6 separate regions of the Homo sapiens genome follow, and regions 1, 2, 3, 5 and 6 are each linked to region 4. The links are contacts of gene promoters, found by promoter capture Hi-C in blood cells and fetal thymus (Javierre and others, 2016). All regions are on one chromosome and are shown on one strand. Each heading gives the region's core, a stretch centred on a gene start or on the middle of the fragment in contact. The rest is flanking DNA. Distances are from core to core; before and after follow the strand shown. Region 1 overlaps UBR5 (ubiquitin protein ligase E3 component n-recognin 5). Region 2 overlaps MAILR (macrophage interferon regulatory lncRNA). Region 3 has its middle 12 kb from the start of ATP6V1C1. Region 4 holds the start of KLF10 (KLF transcription factor 10). Region 5 overlaps UBR5 (ubiquitin protein ligase E3 component n-recognin 5). Region 6 overlaps UBR5 (ubiquitin protein ligase E3 component n-recognin 5).

Region 1 (2,945 bases), core at 244-2,743, 290 kb after region 4:
ATAGATGAGAACTTGAGACCTAGTGGACTTTTAGTGAGTCCAGGTAGTAGTAGATGAGCTGGGAGTAAACCCCGGATTTCTTGCTATTCGGTGGCATTGTTTCCAGTACAAATTGATGTGCATTTCAGACATGTATTTCAGATGTGGTTAGGGGTCTCACCAGGACTTTTAAGATTAGAAAATTTAATTGATAGCAGTAACCATTTGTGCTATCTCCCCAGATAGCCTGAAATTCGCTGTTGAGTTCTTGAGTTTAAATATTTTTTAGCATTCTCATATCCTCGAAGCTTACTTTAGTTTTACAAATAATTGTCTGGAATATTTGGAGACGTGGAAACAACATTTAATTCTTAATCTCAGGCATTGTCCGGTTTTGAAAAAGGCCTTGACAATTATTTTTCTCTCCCAATGCTATATATTTTGCGAGAGCTCTGGAGACAAGTTTTGAGCTACTAACAAAGGAATGGAAATGAATGAGTTTAGTTGCATGCCAGTGAACAAGTTATCTTCTGAAAGTGTCACTACTGTGGTTACTCATAGTAAATGTGGACCCGGGGAAGTGAGAGCTCCTGCTGCTTCTTGGGGTCTTCTAAAGGCTGCTGTTACTCTGCAGAGCAGACCCACCCTTGTTTATCTTCTCCCTATTTTCTAGTCAGCCTTCTCTTAGAGCTCATGGGTTCCACAATACATTACCCTTAAGGTGTTTTATCTTGGAACACAGAAGTGTGCTTTGTAAATGGGCAAACTGGAATTCTTTGAAAAAGCTTAACTTTCTTGAACTAATGAAAACATGTTTTGTTAATGGAAGTAAATGCAAAACTGGGCTACAAAAATGAAAATGTATTTTTCTGGGGGCCAAATCACAAATGATCAGATGCTGTTCTTTAGGAGTGAGAATAAGGTCACCAGTAAGTATCTACTTCTTCAGAGAGAAATAAAATATGGCCGCATTTGAAAGTTACTTCAGGCTGGGCGTCATGGCTCACGCCTGTAATCCCAGCGCTTTGGGAGGCCAAGGCAAGTGGATCTATTGAGGTCAGGAGTTTGAGACCAGCCTGGCCCAAATGGCGAAACCCCATCTATACTGAATTACAAAAATTAGCCGGGTGTGGTGGCGGGTACCTGTAATTCCAGCTACTCGGGAGGCTGAGGCACGAGAATCACTTGAACCCAGGAGATGGAGGTTGTAGTGAGCCGAGATCGCACCATTGCACTCCAGCTGGGGCAACAGATCGAGACTCAAAAAAAAAAAAAAGTTATTTCAGTTACTGAATGCAATTCAATATTAGACAGTTACTGTACGCCTTTGAAAGATGCTGTTCACTAGGATGATAGAACTTATAGGATAAAGTTATAGAACAGCTGACTCCTAATTGAATCTCTTACTGAAATAATTAGGTTATTTTCTCTTACTGAAATAATTAAGTTAGATTATATATGCTTTGTGGCAGTTTTTAAGCCCTAAACTGGCTTTAACGTCATTTATTTTTGGAGTATGTATAACATTTTTGTCTGTTAGTACAAATGATTGAAATTTGATTTTATTCATTTTTGTGACTCTTTAGAGAGCAGAATTCATGGACTTTTCTATTGATTTAATGTTCTGATTTTTCCCATTGCTTTCTAAAATTCTCAGTTTACTTTTACAAGAATTATTTCTGGAAAACGGTTTTAAAAGATCAGATCAGGCAGTGTTTTTTTTGATAACTTAATAGAATTGCTTAAAATCTCTGCATTTGATTATATCTTTACATTGTAAAATGACTTTCTTAGGTTGACAAAATACCTAGTTTAATTTAGCTATTATAGTGTTTTACATTCAAGACTGTTTTCTTAAGAGAAACAACAAAATCATAACAGAAAATACAAGTTAATATCTCTTTGTTATGTAGCCCTTTGGGGTTTTTCTAAATCTGTTCAGTACTGTTTTAAATGCTGTTAGAAATGGGAGGTGTTATCCTTACTTTATATAGATAAGGACATTGATGATCTGGTTTGTTCAATTTTGTGCTATAAGACCGTTCAAGAACTTGAGATGATACCTTAAGTCAATTAGGCTTTCTGTTTTCATTTCATGATATCCATGTGCACTCAAGAATCTCTTGACATGGATAACACAGTTTTTTGTTTTGTTTTGTTTTTTTAAACAATTGAGCCTTTGGTTGGGCATTGGTTCAGCTACCAACTTTATGCTACCTTTTCTATAAACTCTAGAAGCTTCAGTTTTCTCACCTGGGATTAATGGGAAAATGGGATTAATACGATTATCATTGTTACTGAGGTTGCAAATGGGGTGGTGAGGGAACGGAATTGCAGAGTCTGCTTGTGATCTTTTCGGGACAAAAATGAAAATATGAAAAACATTCTTACCATAGCAGTTGTTTTGTGTACTACTATTGGAAATTACCAAAATAATGGTACAAGTACCTGTCAGAAGTATTTGTTTACAAAAGATCTGTACACGTGGTTTGTTAATGTTTTGTTTTAAAGGTTACGAGAAGTTTCTGAGAAGCTGAACAAATATAATTTAAACAGGTAAGAGTTTTAAAATATTTAAATCTTCTGACAACAATTTTTCTTTATTAAGAAAAAACTCATTTAGGCGGCAGCCTGATATGATTAAGATTAATGTGATTATTAGACTTTAAGAATCTTTTAATCTGTCAACTTTTTATGGGTTGGGCTTATTTGAATTATAGATTGCATTCATGCTTTTTTTTTTTTAAATCTGGCATACAGGGAGATATAAATGATTATGGAGATATTATTTTTCAATTATTGCTTTAAAGTAAATATTAGTTTAAAAAATAGGTTTTGCCAACTTTTTTTTTCTAATTGTATTTAAGAGTAAACCCTATGATGTATTTACCATTAAAAAATAATTTAACTTTTTCTTTTTTTATCTCTCAGCCACCCCCCTTTGAATGTATTGGAACAGGCTACTA
Region 2 (3,070 bases), core at 95-2,594, 310 kb before region 4:
TCCTGTCCTCCCCTTTGCCTGGAAACACAGCTCACCACCGTCCACCTGAAGCGCAGGATAGTATTAGGAGGGTTTTCACAATCACACACTCTTAAGGAAGTGAAGAACTTCCAAGTTGAGAACAAGTTCCAGGTACTTTCATTACCTGGAGGAGTCTCCTCTTTGCTCAGAAGTTCTTGGACTCTATGAAACTTCCTGCTCAACATCATTAGCTGTTTCCTCTGAGTTTGGCATTCCTCTTGACTCCCCCAAATTGACATAATTCTCTTCCCTAGTTACTACCTGAAGTCTGAGATTCCTAGCATTAAATACTTTGGTTAGCCCTACAAACAGGAAGTATATGGTCCTGGGGGTGGGTAACTGAGAGAAAGTCAACCTGTCTCCTTAGGAGCCTCTCAGGAGACTCATCTGGCCTTATTTCCATCCCACCTCCTTCCCTGACCTGCTCAACTGGACAGACTGCCTGAGTCTTAGCTCAAGGCCACTTGCCATAGGTCAATAATAAATCATTTCTATTCCTTTCTGCATTTTAAAGAAAATGTTTTAACAGTCATACTTTAATGTCAAGAGCACAATTTTGAAAACTGCGTAAAGATGACAGTTTCAGAGGCAGATTTGGGTTGAGCTAAGTGATTTTCAGCTTCTGCTCTAGCAAATTATCCGAAGGCTGCTTCTTCTGAAATTCACTCTTCATCACTGCTAGGACTTGATCAGGTCAGCTTGCCACAATTGGCCAGGTTTATTATTTATTGGCTAGAGGTAAAATATTCAAATGATTATCTAGTACATGTGACTATTTGCTATCAACCTCGGTTTCCAGTAGTGGAGGAAAGGATGAATAAAATGGGTGGATTGCATACTATGGAGTCTTGTGCAGTGATAAAAACAACAAATGAAATGCATGCACGGCAATAATTTTAGTTCTTTAAAATATAGTACTGAGAAAAAATAGCAAAAAACAACATTTATAGCACATACACTAACACAATACACTTTATAAGACAAAGGCATATTTAAGAAAATATATGAAAATGTGAAAGTAGTAACTTATGGTCAGGGGTAGGGGTTAGGGGTAAAATAAAATAAAATAAGAGAAACCTTCCCAAAAATGTGATGATAAGGTAGCATGAACTGAGTAGTATGATTAACTCTTTTGAAGTCTCAAAAACTGCACAAATAAGCCTGGACAACATGGTTAAAATTGTCTCTACAAAAAATACAAAAATTAGCCAGGCGTGGTGGCATGTCTCTAGTCCCAGCTACTCGGGAGGCTGAGGTGGGAGGATCACCTGAGCCTGCAAAGTCAAGGCTTCAGTGAGCCGTGATGGCACCACCACACTCCAGCCTGAGTGACAGAGCGAGACCTTGTCTCAAAAAAAAAAATCATAAATTAGTGCTTCCCAGCAGTGTTCCAGTCATAGAGCATGAACATTCTGAAAGATGCTAACGCGTGTTACCAAAAAGCAGATTCCATGATCCTGTACATTAGGGAAACTTAGGTTAAACAAAGTTAAACAAGTTTCTTCACTTCAGATCTCCTCAGAGTCTGTAACAGTCTAATTTATGATGGGTATACACAGTATTTCCCAAACTTCTTTGGCCTTGGAACTATTTTTGGCAAATGCTGTTTTGCAAAACACAGATTGGGAAATGCTGCCCTCACCGTTTACCCCAGTTACTTTCTTCTCTCAAGACAGCCTCAGTACTCCATTCCACCTGTCCTCCAGGTCTCCTCTCTTCCAGGAAACCCCCTCTGCAGCCCATAATCATCTCTATTCTCATCTTATTGCTGCAACTCTTTGGCCAATAAGCAGTAAGATCAGAGTATTTTACTGTTGCTGCAGAAATGTATTAGTGCAGCAGGAGGTTCAGAATACAGCAGACATACTCTACTGTTGCTTCTGTATCTGCTATTGCTTTCTTAAGGATGAGGGCGACACAGTTTTTTATCTCTACCTTAACTTTTGGTGATGTTGACTTGAATAAATTACATGGAAGGACCTTTCAGCCAATCATTTCACAGCATCTATTCAAATCAGGTTAAATTAATACTGTCTGAGGTGAGGGTGAAAGAGTCATATTTACAAAGCATCCCAAACAACAGAAAACAGCTTTTTTCATAATGTTTTGATGCTTTAATACATTTAAGGAAAAGTGAGAAGGTGAAACAAGGACAATTATACGCTTCCCAAAACAGCTTTAAGTCAGTTGAATGGTTTCTTAGCTTTGCCTAGCCCTGCTCTACACCAGGATTCAATGATGATGATGATGATGAACAACAAGGAGGGTGAGGGAGATGAAGGAGAAGAACAACAAGGAGGAGGCAACTACCTTTATAAATTCCAGGCCAGGCGCAGTGGCTCACACCTGTAATACCAGCACTTTGGGAGGCTGAGGCAGGTGGATCACCTGAGGCCAGGAGTTCAAGACAAGCCTGGCCAACATGGTGAAACCCCGTCTCTACTAAAAATACAAAAATTAGCCAGGCATGGTGGTGCATGCCTGTAGTCCCATCTACTCAGGAGGCTGAAGCAGGAGAATCACTTGAACCCGGGAGGCGGAGGCTGCAGTGAGCCAAGATTGTGCCACTGCACTTCAGCCTGGGTGACAGAGGGAGATTCCGCCTCAAAAATAAATAAATAAATAAATACGTAAATTCCAGATTTCAGGACCAGTACTATGTTAAGTACCTCACCTACTTCATAGGTTTAAAAGAGTGGCCACCTAGTCCGGGCATCATAGCAAGACCTCATCTCTACTAAAAGTAAAAAAAAAATCAGCTAGATGCCGTGGCGCATGCCTGTCATTCCAGCTACTTGGTAGCTGATGTGGAAGGATCGCTTGAGGCTGGGAGATCAAGCCTGCAGTGAGCCGTGATCACGCCACTGCATACCAGCCTAGGTGACAGAGCGAGACCCTGTCTCAAAAAAAGGAAAAAAAAACGTGGTCACTGAAAAGCCCCTTTTACCAACATGTCTTTCTCCCATGGCTTTCAGAGACCTAAAATTTCCATCTTTATACATCTGTTCCTACAGCCCCTTTAACATCTGTAAAAACTCCAGAAGTATTA
Region 3 (3,351 bases), core at 852-3,351, 350 kb before region 4:
TCACTGCTGGGTCAGCCATCTCTTGCCAGATGGCTGTGACCACAGTTTGATCATCACTCCTCTTAATCTTACCAAGAAGCCTATCCAAAACAGCAGGGGATAGCCCCAGCTCCTGCACCTCCCATGCAAATCCCTGTCAATACCTCCAGATGTCTTCCTCAGCCTTATTCCTATCGCTATTGCTCAGTCATTCCATGGGGTTGACAATGTCACCCTGCTGGTGACATGAACAAACAGGAGAGTCTGGGCTGACTGCCCTCAGGCAGTTCCTCCATAAATAAGGATTAGATTCAGTTATTTAAAGTGACCTTAGAACTTTTGATTTAACAGCTGACCCAGAGGTCATGTTGGTGTTACTGTCGATCTGTGCCCACCGAATGGTATAAGTCTCATTTGGGGGATGCTAAGAATTGTAAACAACATTTTCTTTTTTTTAATTTTAATTTTAAATTGTTTTAGAGATGGGGTCTCACTCTGTCAGCCAGGCTGGAGTGCACTGGTGCCATCATAGCTCACTGTAGCCTCAAACTCCTGTGCTCATGGGGTCCTCTCCCCTGAGCCACCTGAGGAGCTATAACATGCACCACCACACCCGGCTGATTTTTATTTTTATTTTTTTGGTAGAGATGGAGTCTCACTATGTTGCCCAGGCTGGTCTCAAACTCCTGACCTCAAGCAATCCTCCCACCTTGGCTTCCCAAAATGCTGGAATTACAGGCACAAGCCACCGTGCCCGGACCTTTAAACAACACTTTGTTCCCAGAGCTGCCCTGTGCATCCCAGGACAGTATGGAAGGCAGGCATTATCTTGACTCTCTCCCCAAAATATAGTGACTTATACCTTGTAAGTCATCATAAAAAACCTTCAAGTGTACACCACTAGTAGCTCACATAGCCCTCAGATGATTGTGGAGATTTCTCCAAAATGAAGCTTCCTTTGATTACCTGGAGGAACTCCCCAAAGTGATAACAGGCTTGTTATTTATCCACTATCAGTGGCCACTTGTTGCTGCAGTGGAAGTCATCCCATTAGAAGAAGCAGAACAAAATTTGCCCCTGACTTTAGCTGAAGTGATCAGTGATACCAGCTTTGCCCTTGAAGTATTCGCATTTGCCTCAACTGAGTAGCCAGGTGTGTTATACGTAATACAATTGCTTTAAACTTCTTCCTTGTGGGTCAAGGCGGAGGGGTCTGTACAATTATTAATACATTCTGTCATGCCTACATTAATGTCTTGGACTGAGGGAAAAGGTCAGTACAGAAACTTAAGGAAAGATCCCACTCCCTGACTCTTCTTAAATGAAGCCTTGGTGGCTTCTTGAATTTGTTCAAGGAGTTGATTCTGAGACTCTGACAGGCATATTTGAGGTCAGTGCCACAAATAGCTTCCTCCTGCTTTGTGGATTCTTGTTTATAGTCACCTTAATAAGGCCATATTTGACAAATTAAACAGACTTGGTCCCAGTCTTTGTCAGCTGGGTTAATTGGAGAATGCCAGTGGCATATCTATGGGAAACTTCACCAGAAGCAAGACAGTGTAAAAAGGAGGGTGAGCCACTGTGCCTGGCCAGTTTTCTGTCAATAAACAAAAATTTGGCAATCCAGGAGGAAAGAATAGTCTCTCTCTACAGCTATAAGGTTGCTGGGTACTATAAACTATGAAGAAATCCAATGGAATAAATTGGTGTTAGGGAACAATAAATATGAGAAAATGTTTTCCATTTGTTATCAAAGAGCAACTTGATAATTTTAAGGGATTGTATTCTAAAATAAAGCAAATACCTTCAAACCTGAAAATATTGTTTCATTATTCAGATATAATTCACCTTTTCATCAGTCAATAACTATTTAGGCCCAGAAGGGAAAAGTTGTACAATCCTTTGTACATATGGTTCTTTGATAAGAACTACTAAATACAGGCTGGACGTGGTGGCTCACCTATGTAATCCCAACACTTTGGGAGGCCAAGGCAGGTGGATCACCTGAAGTCAGGAGTTCAAGACCAGCCTGGCCAACACAGTGAAATCTCGTCTCTACTAAAAATACAACAATTAGCTGGGCATGGTAGCGGGCACCAGTAATCCCAGCTACTCAAGAGGCTGAGGTGGGAGAATCACTTGAACCCAGGAGACGGAGGTTGCAGTGAGCCGAGATTGAGCCACTGAACTCCAGCTTGGGCGACAGAGTGAGACTCCATCTCAAAAAAGAAAAAAAAAAAAGAACTATTAAACACTTTTTTTTTTTTTTTTTGAGATAGAGTCTCTCTGTGTCACCCAGGCTGGAGTGCAGTGGCATGATCTCAGCTCACTGCAACCTCCCCCTCCCGGGTTCAAGCGATTCTCCTACTTCAGCCTCCTGAGTAGCTGGGATTACAGGTGCGCACCACCACGCCCAGCTAATTTTTATATTTTTAGTAGAGACGGGGTTTCACCATGTTGGTCAGGCTGGTCTCGAGCTCCTGACCTTGTGATCTGCCCGCCTCAGCCTTCCAAAGTGCTGGGATTACAGGCGTGAGCCACCGCACCCAGCCAAACACTATTTTTTGGATCTTAGCAATCACTTTACAAATATCAGAAGGTAAACTCGTAGGTCTTTAATTTGATGATTTATTAAATGATTTTGGGAGTGGGGAAACAATACCTATTTACCCTAACCACACGCTGCAGCTACCTTCCCTAACACTAATGGAGGTTGTACTGAAATTCTTGTTAAATCTGCAGTCCATGAAAACACTGAATCCAAGTTTTGGAGGTTGTGGCCTGGGTATCTGCATTGTCACAAGACCTCGTGAAATTTGATGAATCATTGCACTAGAACTTCTTGAGCAGTCATTCTTCTGAGCCTCTGTGGCATAGCTGTGTTATTCACTTAGCACCCAAGGTGTAATATTAGTATGTGTTCATTCATTCAGTGAATATTTTTAGGTGCCTACTGTGTGTTTAGAACCTTACTAAACATTCTTTTGTCATTTTTTGGTGTGTCTACCCACAACTAGATTAAAAGCCTCTTTCAAATAGGGATCCTAAGTAAACATGTCTTTGTAGTCCTAGAAACTGATAAGCAATGTACCCTCCACCCAGGGTCCCACCCAGAGTCCAATTCCCTCTTTTTGCTTCCTAACAGAACCACAGTTTTGTTCAGGGACCCATCTGTTTAGCCAAGTATGTTGGAGGAAACTGTCAGGAATGGTTCTAAATGATTGCTTCAGGTATTTGCATGTGACCTAATTCTGGCAGATGAGGCATGAGGGGAAATGTGCTGGAAAGCTTCCATGAAGTTCTCTTGCTCTTAGGAGAGACCTACAGGACGAGGTGGTCTCTCTTTTTCCTCAAAATAGTCATGCTTCTGTT
Region 4 (3,240 bases), core at 44-2,543:
ACTGCCTTCCTCTCCAACAACAGCTGCTGTGATCACGCACAAACGGCCAAACGGGGGCAAATCCGTGCCAAAGCAGGGCCATGGGCTTTCCTGATCAGAAGGCCTAGCCCCAGCCCCCAGGCGCAGCACACGGGCGGCTTCCTTTCAGAAACCCAGCCTGCCTCCCACCAGCTGGAGTGGGTGGGTGGGGCGGTAGTGGTGCCAGTTTCAGGGAACGGCCGGCAAACCCACCTCCAGGCGTGCTCCAGCGGGAGCCTGGAGACCCTAGGAGAGCCCTCCCCACAAGCGGCTTCCAGGCAGGACGCTTCCAGAGGTCTTGGTCCAGGGGTGGGGGTGAGGTGGGGTCTACCTTTGAAACAGCTACAATTTAAACTTCAGCTACACCGAGCTCAAACTCGATTCCGCAGCCGAGTGTCGGCGCCAGAGAAGGATAAAAACTCGGGTCTACGGCTCCCCACCACGCCCCTGGTCCGGTCCTCTGGGCTTCCAGGAGTCCTCACGCCATCCTCTGGGTTGCCCAGGAGGAAGGATGGGCGGGGCGGGCAGGCGCTGCGGGCGCTGCAGATGGGGAGGGCGAGCCCGCGGCACGGCGTGAGCGGGGGAGAGGCGCGCGAGCAGGTGTCGGCTCCGTGACAGGGTCCCCCATCCCGCGCCCCAGTGCTCCCCGAGGCTTAGTGAGGCAAAACCCAGCAAATGCTTCAGAAATGCAGCTCAGTCGGTCACCGGGTTCTGCTTCCTCATCAGACGCGCAAGAGGATGGCGCTTCCAATGCAAATCTCTTGGCTCCGGCCCCTTGGCTGGCAGCCGCCGCGTCCCCCGCCTGCCTGGCGTCCCGCCCACTCCGTGGCGGGCTGAGACGAGGCCCGGCGCGGAGGGGACGGGGCGGAGCGGGCATCCCTCCCCACCCCCCACGTGGGGCTGGCCCTCCGCAGTGCCTGGGCGCGCTGCAGTCGCCGCGCCTCCCCGGCCGCGGCACCGCCTCTCTAGGCAGGGGCGGGGGACGAGGGGCAAGGAGTGGGCGAGGGGTGGGCGAGGGGCGGGGGGCGTCACTCAATCAGGTGGCCTCTGGAGTTCCCCGGGGCAGGGCAGAGGGAACACGCTGCCGGGGATTGTGTACACGCTCCACTGACACCAGCTTCACGCTGCCGGGCAGTCGCCGATCACGCGTGGCCCCGCGAGCCCATTGGCCGGCGCCTCACACACCTTTGCCGTTGATTGGCCGGCCTCAGGCTCCGCCCCCACCCCCGCCCGCGGCGCGGGGCAGGCTGAGCGGCTACCTGAATGGGGAGGGGGCAGACGGCGCTGAGCGCGGCGGCGGCGGGAGCGGCGTCGAGTGTCTCCGTGCGCCCGTCTGTGGCCAAGCAGCCAGCAGCCTAGCAGCCAGTCAGCTTGCCGCCGGCGGCCAAGCAGCCAACCATGCTCAACTTCGGTGCCTCTCTCCAGCAGACTGCGGTAAGTCATTTGGGGATGCCCCTGTGCTTCCTCGCCTGGTCTTGTCTGGGGGGCCAAAGGGGGCGCGAACCCCGAGCCCCGGACATCAGCCATGCCTGAGAATTGGGGCTGCAGCGGAGTCGTGGGGAAGGAAAGGGCTTCCTGCCTGCAGACTATGGGCATTAGTGAGGGCGTGTGTGTTCGGGAGGGGGTCGAACCAGGGGGCTGGGATCTTCAGACAGGGACAGGGGTCTTGCTCTAGATGTACTGAGGGGAAGGGACAACTCCGCATGGAGACCCGAGAGGGCTGGTGAGGAGGAGGATGACGAGCGGGGGAGGAGTGGGGAGGGGGCCGTTGCCCTGCAGCGAGGTTGGGGTACAGTGTGGAACGAGAGTCGCGGGAGGGACAAGGGGGCTACCCTCACCTGGTACCGAGGAGAGATGCCCGGTCTGGCTCAGGAACGCGAGCCAGGGGAGGAAGGGGCTGCTCGCAAGCACTCGGGAGGCGGGGTGTCCACAGGAGAGGCGAGTGGGCTACCCATCCTGGGGGTCTGAACCCACGCTTGGAAGACGGGGGCTGCTCAGCAGATAGCTCGGGGCTGGGGGAAGGGGCGCCTGTCGTCGGAGCGGGGGGATGACACGAGGGCCCGCCGACAGCCCTGGGGGACGAGTTGCTCCCCCAGACGTCTGGAGGGGGACTCTTACCCCAGGGGCAGGTGGCCGCCTTCTGACGACTCCTTGGAAGAGGCGGGGAGCCGCCTCTGGGGCAGGAGGGTGGGAAGCGGGACCCAGCAGCTGGGGCGGGAAGGTGGGCGGGGGGAGCTGGGCCGCGAGACGCGGGGGCCGCGCGTCTGGAGCCGGGGCCTGTGGGGGCTGCACGTCTGGGAACCCGTGGAGACGCGCGGCGGGAGGGGCCTGGAGCTGCCGGAAGCCACGGGGAGGGGGCGCCGCGTCTACAGGGAGAGACGGGGTGGTCTGAGGTCCCGTGGGCCGCGTGGGCGGGAAGTGCCGAGGGCTCGGCCGGGTTCCCGGGGGCTGCCGGCGGGAGGAGGGCGGCGGCCGGGTTTCCGCGGGGACCTGGCTCCTCCTCCCGCATCTGAGGCGGAGGCCGGGGGTGGGCCGGGAGCGGGTGCGCCCGGGGAGCTTCTCGTCCCCGAGTGACCCAGCCCCGGCCTCCGCCAGGGGCGGGAGCGAGGCCCGGCCCCGCTGTCGGTTCCTAAGGGAACGGCGGCTCGCGGGGAGCTGGAAGGGGCGGGCGCCTCCCGGAGCCTGGCGCCCGCAGCCCCGCCCCTCCCCGCGGGCCCGGCGCGCACGGCCGGGCGGTTGGCGGCGGCGCCCGCGGCCCCTCCCCCGGGTCGGGCGCGGGCGGGGGCCCGCAAGCTCAGGAAGTAGGGGAAAGGTGACGGCGCGGCAATTCCCAGTTCACGTTTCCTGCGCCTCCCGGAGCAGCCGCTGATCACGCTTTGTTCACATGCCTCGCCCCCTCCTCGCCCACGCCCCCGCCCCGGGCCGCACAGCCAATCCGGGCTCGGGCCGCCGAGCCGGCCGGCCAATGGCGGGGGCAGGGGCGCGGGGACGTGCGAGCGGCGAGGAATGTTCCCAGTGACTCACCCGTGAGCCTCATTGAGGTTAGGGCGGCCCCATCCGTCGGTCTCCGCCAGCTAGGATCTCCCCCGCCGTCCGCCCCCGCCCCTCGTCTGCCTCCCCCGCCCGCGCCTCCGCCCGCGCTTCCCTTTCCTGCCTCGCGCCCCACTCCCTTTCCTCCCCTCCCTGTTTCCCTTCCTGTCCTTCCCAGCTCACGCTCTCTTT
Region 5 (2,998 bases), core at 37-2,536, 260 kb after region 4:
TATTTCCTGCCTCAGACCTGCTCTTCTGCTTTTTTTGTACTTACTCTAATAGGTATTTAGGAGTAGTGGGCAGAAAATAGAGCTTTCTAAGCTCTTGCCGTCTGGTTAGTTTAACTGAAGAGGAGCTCTTAAAAAACATGCCCAGGTCTTCTGTATTGCTCCCCCACCCCTTCCCCCTTTATTTGATTTTATTTTTGACATGGAGTCTCACTCTGTCACTCAGGCAGGAGTGCAGCTTTATCAAGTATATGATAAAGCAAAAGCACATTGATGATGGCATATCACCTTCTGAGTTTGAAAATGTTTGTTTACCTTTGATTTCTAATGGATTAAGAGTGTTGCTCTTGTTTTTTGGAAATGCTGTTTATTAGGTCCTAGTACTGCCACATGCTCAATGAGAAACTTTTTAACTTCTGTTTTCCAGGAAACCCATTGTTCTGTGTATTAGACTGTAATAGATATTACCTTGTGACTTGACACTGCTGAATAGAATGTTTTGAGATGTTTCATCAAAACTTTACACCAAGGACGATTTTAGGATTTTATTTTATAGCTGAGGAAACTGAGGGCCGGAGTGCTTAGATTAGTTAAGTGGCAAAGACTCCACCCTACATTAACTTAGCCTTATTGCTTTTCCTTTGAAAAGGGTAGAGGAAGTTACTTGTTTTTCTATGTGTGTGTGTATGTAATTATATATTAATGTGAACACACACTGTTTGTGTGTATGTATGTTTGTGTATATATGTAATTATAAATATGAATACACTGTGTTTGTGTATATGTAAACAGGTACGTGTGTGTGTGTGTATATATATAAATAGATATATGTGAAATCATTAAAAGAGTGTTTATTCAGCAAGATTTGGGGGCGTCTGCTGCCTGTCAGTTCTAGTCTTGGGTGTCTGGTGGTGGTGTTTGGTTCATGAAAAAGAGACAGTTACAGGACAGTGTGACAAGTACAGTGAAAAGGGAAAGTTCAGGATTCTTCACTAGAAGCACCAGTTCAGTCTTGGGCAGGGGAAAAGCTTACCTGAAGAAGTGTTGAAAATGAGAATAGGGATTGTGAATGAAAAGGAGGTAGGCTGAGAGAGGCTGGTGGGAGAGCTGTAGGATGTAGGACGTAGGACAAGGTGTTAAGAACTGGAAGAGCTCCCTAGGCAGAAGGAACAGCACATGTGGAGACCGTGAGAGACTGCTGTGTATTTGAGGAACTAAAAGAAGCCCAGAATGCTTAGACTGATGAATACATAGAGTTTCAAATCAGTTGAATAATGTTCTTGTAGAAAAGGATACCTTGTTAATTATCTTCAATAATGACTTTGGTCATATCATGATCAAGTAAATAAGATGTGCTAGGCCATAAATTGGCCATAACTGGTTAATGTAGTTGGTTAGGCTTAGAGTAATGGAACCAATGCACTAAGGAGTGTGAATTCCATTTTCCATGTAGGCAAGTTGCTTGATTTTGTGGCTACAAAGAATGTACTTCACCTCTCTCCAGCCAAGTTGTTGGTGTTTGCCATTGTTAATGAGGATGATCAAGCTTGAATGGATGATTCAGTTCAAATGCCTCACTGTTATTGGGAAAAAACTGCAGATCTTTTGGAGAAACCAGTAGAATCACGGAGCTGAATAAAAGACAATGTGTTTTTCTATCTAAGAGGTGAAAAAGTCTATGATATTAACTGTGGTAAAGACTAAAGTTTCATAAGTGCTAAAACAAAATGACGGTATACTTGCCTCTGGGTTATGGTTGATTACTTTTGATATTTCTTGATATGATTTTGTATTTTATATACTTCTGTATATGAGTATATATTATTTTAATAATAGAAAAAGAATAAATTCTGGCCGGATGCGGTGGCTCGCGCCTGTAACCCCAGCACTTTGGGAGGCCAAGGCGGACAGATGATGAGGTCAGGAGTTAAGAGACCAGCCTGACCAAAATGGTGAAACCCTGTCTCTACTAAAAATACAAAAATTAGCTGGGCGTGGTGGTGTGCGAATGTAATCCCAGCTACTCAGGAAGCTGAGGCAGGAGAATGGCTTGAACCCGGGAGGCAGAGGTTGCAGTGAGCCGACTGTGCCACTGCACTCCAGCCTGGGCGAGGGCGAGAGTCCGTCTCAAGAAAAAGAAAAAGAATAAATTTCTAGGAAAGTGTTTTAGCTTATTTAACTATTCACCTAAAATAAGAACGTGAAAATCATTGAATAAAGAATAGTAATTTAGTTTCACCTAAAATATTTTTTCCTCTAGAAACTTTTTATTGTTATTTTTTAAGACAGAGTCTTGCTCTGTTGCCCAGGCTGGAGTGCAGTGGCAGGATCTTGGCTCACTGCAACCACCGTCTCCCTGGTTCAAGCAATTCTTGTGCCTCAGCCTCCAGAGCAGCTGGGACTCCAGGCGTGTGCCACCATGCTCGGCTAATTTTTGTGTTTTTAGTAGAGATGGAGTTTCACCATGCTGGCCAGGCTGGTCTCGAACTCCTGGCCTCAAGTGATCCGCCTTCCTCAGCCTCTCAAAGTGCTGGGATTACAGGCATGAGCCACCATGCCTGGCTCTAGAAACTTCTTAAAAGAAACTTTGCTCTGTCCCCCTGACTGGGGTGCAGTGGCGTGATCTCAGCTCATTGCAACCTCCACCTCCCAGGTTCAAGCGATTCTCCTGCCTCAGCCTCCTGAGTAGCTGGGACTACTGGCGTGTGCTACCATGCGTGGCTAATTTTTTGTATTTTTAGTAGAGACGGGGTTTCACCATGTTGGCCACGCTGGTCTCGAACTCTTGACCTCGTGATCCGCCCATCTTGGCCTCCCAAAGTGCTGGGATTACTAGTGTGAACCACCGCCTGTTGTTTCCGTTTTTACATTCAGAATTAACTTTGGGAGAAGACAACTTGTAAAAAAATTGGAGTAAAATTTAAGCCCTTTTTTTCCCCTAGTAAATTGACCAGAATTTTCATCATAACTTAAATATAAATGAAGATTCCCATAAGTCATT
Region 6 (3,184 bases), core at 120-2,619, 320 kb after region 4:
GCAGGCAAGAAGTAGTAGGTGATTTTTTTGTCCTCTTCCTGTGGGTTCATAGTTGTGCTATTCATCTTCATTTGTCCATAGTGGGTTTTCAGGGCCTGTAGGGGTGTAATTGGCTCATCCAGGCCTTATCACCGTGGGGGACATTGCCCTATCTCTGAAAGATAAAGGCAAGTCAGTTCTGAGAGGGCCTCATGCACCATGCTCTTGCTATTGGGCTGGTTTGTTCAGGATTGTACTGCTCTAGTAAGGCATTTACCCAAAGAAGCTGGAGTTAAGATTCATTTGTTCATTCAACAGTTGGTCAGTGTGTTCCTGCTTTGTGCCATATACCAAGCTGGCATATGGTAATATAGTCATGAGTATGATATTGGCCTTTCTACAAGGAATTCAGTGGGGAACACAAACATTTACATAGAATGTAATGTGATCATAATGTGATCAGTGCTAGGCTGAAAGTATGAGTAAAGTGCTATAGGGGTTCTGAGTGGTAAATGACCAATACCACCTGAGAGATCTGGCAAAGGCATCGCAGAGGAGATAGCATTTAAGCAGCATTTTTAAGGTGAGGTGGGCATTGACCAAGGCACAAAGGTATTCCAAACGTATCTGGGCATGGGCCCAGAGTCACAAAAGGTCATGATGTGTTTGAGGAACCATGAAAAATTCAGAATTGCTGCTTTGTGGTGGGGAGTAGGAGAAGAGATGGGATGGAGATGACTAGACAGTTTGCCAAGCAAGAAGTTAGGATATTGTTTTGCAGCAATTAAGAAGTCAACAGAGTCCGTAGAGAAGTGACTTGATGTGATTGGTGGGGTTTTGCTTTGTTGTATTTGATTTGTTTTAAGGAGGTGAACATTACTGGCATGATGGGAGAAAGCAACAGGAAAAATCAAAAGTCGGTTATGAGAATGCTACAGTTGTTCAAGGAAATTGTGAGGATCTCAACCAAAGCAGGGGTATGGGGAGAGAGAAAGAGAAGAATCTGAGAGGAATTTGAGATCAGTTTAGACATGGGAACCTGGGAGCACGCCTCATCTCTTCCTTTTCTCTCATCAGTCAATTCGATTGTCGTGTCTCCCATTACCAGGTGGGTGGTGATGTCATTCATAGAGATAGGAACTACAGGGAAGGCACAGCTTTGCAGGAGATGGCGGATTCATTTTAGGGATGTCATTGTGCTTTTTAAGACAGCTGTAGGTAAGTCTGGAGATATGAGATTTACACATTTAAAAGCATGATGCTCTGGTAGATGAAGTCACTGAGGCTGAAGGTGAAGCACAATTTGAATACAGGGAGAAACACAGAATCAGTGGCAGGGAGTGCATGGTAGTACCAGGGAGATGGAGGGAAGACCATGCATGGTAGTGCCAGGGAGATGGAAGGTAGGTGGAAGACCAGTAGAGAATGGTGACCTATGAATTAGGGAGAGAAGGATGGGTTCCAGAACAGATAATGAACAGAGGCAAATCATTTGAAGAGTTTAAAGAGAAGATGGACTGATTACGTACATTGAGCATTGATTTGGCAGTTGGAAAAAATGTCATGTCCATCACTGAAAACTGGTAAGGTGAAACATATGCCAGGCAGTAATTCACTTTACCATGTTAGGACTGAAGGAGAGATTTGTTTGGATGGTTGTTGGGGGATATGGGAAGGAGTTGCATCCAGTGTGTCTGTGGGTTATCTTTAAATAGGAGGGGAGGAAAACACTTCTTTCTCTGAGATGGGGAGAAGGGAGGAGGTGAGAATGGTGCTTTCATTAAGCAAATCTAGAGCTAGGAATATTGAGGAAGCCCCTGCCTGAGAGCTATCATTTTCTGGGTGAGTCAGAGATGAAGTCAGGGGAGGAGATTAGTCATAGTCGAATTTGATTGAGTGCTTATTTGCACTGGGCTCTGTGCTGTGTACTTTATCCAGCTGACCCTTGAACTATGAAGGGGTTAGGGGCACCCACTCCTCATGCAGTTGAAAATCCACATAACTTTGACTCCCCCAAAACTTATTATAGCCTCCTGTTCACTGGGAGCCTTAGCAACAACATAAAGTTGATTAACAACATATTTTGTATGTTATATGTAGTATATACTGTATTTATACAATAAAGTAAATTAGAGAAAATGTTATTAAGAAAATCATAAGGAAAAGAACATACATTTAGTATTCATTAAGTGGAAGCGGATTACCATTAAGGTCTTTATTCTCATTATCTTCATGTTGAATAGGCTGAGGAGGGGAAGGAAGAATTAGAAGAGGAGGAGTTGCTTTTGCTGTCTCAAGGATGGCAGAGGCTGAAGAGAACTATAAGCAGACCCTAACAGTTCAAACCCATATTGTTCAAGGGTCAGCTATATATGTTACTCCGTTTGGTTTTTACCCTGCACTCCCCTCTCCCTTACCATGATTTGCATTACCTTAATACCCATTTTAGAAATGAAGAAATGGTTTCAGAGAAATTGTATAGTTTACCTGAAGTCACATACTTAATAAGTGTTGGATCTAGGTTGGGGACTCACTTAGTCTGATTCCATTATAGTTAATTCTTAACCGTAGGATTGAGAAGAGAATATGAAGTAGAAAGGTAAAATTTGATGCAGTTTCTATGGAGAAAGTCAGTAATGGTTTGTAGACATCCATGGTAAAGGTAAGGGAAGAATTGCTAACTTGGAGAATTCCAAATTTGGTCTCTTTTCCATCCCCCAATAAAAGTGACTTGAAAATAGGAAAATAGGTTTGACTGGTACAGGTAAAATAGACGATTAAAATTAGTATTATTTCTGTACAACACTAAGGCATAACCTGTTGTTATTGTGTTATATTAATAAATCTTGTAGACTTTACAAGTTTTAGCACTATAACGTTACCATCTGACCAAATAAAATTGAATTTTGACAGAAAAACCAGAAAGACACCATTTGTTTATCATACCCTGGAGCCAGAATCCCAAAGAAAATGGAGAAGTACTGTGTATAGACCAACAGCATTTTTGCAACCTAAAATCCGTTACTGGCAATTTTTGCTGTGAGATTTCTAGGTAGCTTTGTGGCTCTGATCATTTGTTTTATGTTAAAGAAAATTATTTATTTACATTTATTAGCCAAGCTTTTTATAATTTAATTGCATTCCAAATCATTGCATGTATGTCAACATAAAAGTGAACGAATGATTACCTTAAATATGGGCACTT

The links. The method cuts DNA at HindIII sites, captures the fragments that hold promoters and counts their contacts. A CHiCAGO score of 5 or more calls a contact.
Region 1: a contact is called between a fragment that was not itself captured here and the fragment with the promoter of KLF10 in region 4, in 2 of 17 cell types (M0 macrophages and monocytes). The highest score is 5.7, in M0 macrophages.
Region 2: a fragment that was not itself captured here is called in contact with the fragment with the promoter of KLF10 in region 4 in 1 of 17 cell types (neutrophils); the score reaches 6.7 in neutrophils.
Region 3: a contact is called between a fragment that was not itself captured here and the fragment with the promoter of KLF10 in region 4, in 1 of 17 cell types (neutrophils). The highest score is 5.4, in neutrophils.
Region 5: a contact is called between a fragment that was not itself captured here and the fragment with the promoter of KLF10 in region 4, in 1 of 17 cell types (M2 macrophages). The highest score is 6.1, in M2 macrophages.
Region 6: a contact is called between a fragment that was not itself captured here and the fragment with the promoter of KLF10 in region 4, in 1 of 17 cell types (M2 macrophages). The highest score is 5.8, in M2 macrophages.

What each region holds. Positions count from the first base shown.
Region 1 is chr8:102,361,172-102,364,116 of GRCh38, reverse strand. It overlaps UBR5 (ubiquitin protein ligase E3 component n-recognin 5), which reads left to right. Exons shown (of 59, transcript NM_015902.6): 2 at 2,491-2,535; 3 at 2,911-2,945. Among named protein-coding and RNA genes, the nearest start is that of UBR5, 50 kb to the left of the region's middle. The HindIII fragment of the contact is 1,453 bases long and covers 767-2,219 here.
Region 2 is chr8:102,964,572-102,967,641 of GRCh38, reverse strand. All of the region lies in intron 2 of MAILR (macrophage interferon regulatory lncRNA), which reads right to left. Among named protein-coding and RNA genes, the nearest start is that of ATP6V1C1, 55 kb to the left of the region's middle. The HindIII fragment of the contact is 4,294 bases long and covers 1-3,070 here.
Region 3 is chr8:103,007,541-103,010,891 of GRCh38, reverse strand. No RefSeq gene overlaps it. Among named protein-coding and RNA genes, the nearest start is that of ATP6V1C1, 12 kb to the left of the region's middle. The HindIII fragment of the contact is 2,336 bases long and covers 934-3,269 here.
Region 4 is chr8:102,653,778-102,657,017 of GRCh38, reverse strand. It overlaps KLF10 (KLF transcription factor 10), which reads left to right and starts at 1,293. Exons shown (of 4, transcript NM_005655.4): 1 at 1,293-1,452. The coding sequence starts at 1,417. LOC101927245 (a long non-coding RNA gene) reads right to left here and starts at 770. Exons shown (of 5, transcript NR_160672.1): 1 at 232-770. RefSeq lists enhancers at 1-62, 663-1,263, 2,557-3,181, 3,182-3,240, silencers at 404-1,423, 2,324-3,233 and a promoter at 703-1,437. The HindIII fragment of the contact is 6,240 bases long and covers 1-3,240 here.
Region 5 is chr8:102,393,211-102,396,208 of GRCh38, reverse strand. The region is part of intron 1 of UBR5 (ubiquitin protein ligase E3 component n-recognin 5); the gene reads left to right. Among named protein-coding and RNA genes, the nearest start is that of UBR5, 18 kb to the left of the region's middle. RefSeq lists an enhancer at 1,083-1,162. The HindIII fragment of the contact is 518 bases long and covers 1,028-1,545 here.
Region 6 is chr8:102,330,013-102,333,196 of GRCh38, reverse strand. The region is part of intron 9 of UBR5 (ubiquitin protein ligase E3 component n-recognin 5); the gene reads left to right. Among named protein-coding and RNA genes, the nearest start is that of UBR5, 81 kb to the left of the region's middle. The HindIII fragment of the contact is 3,464 bases long and covers 1-3,101 here.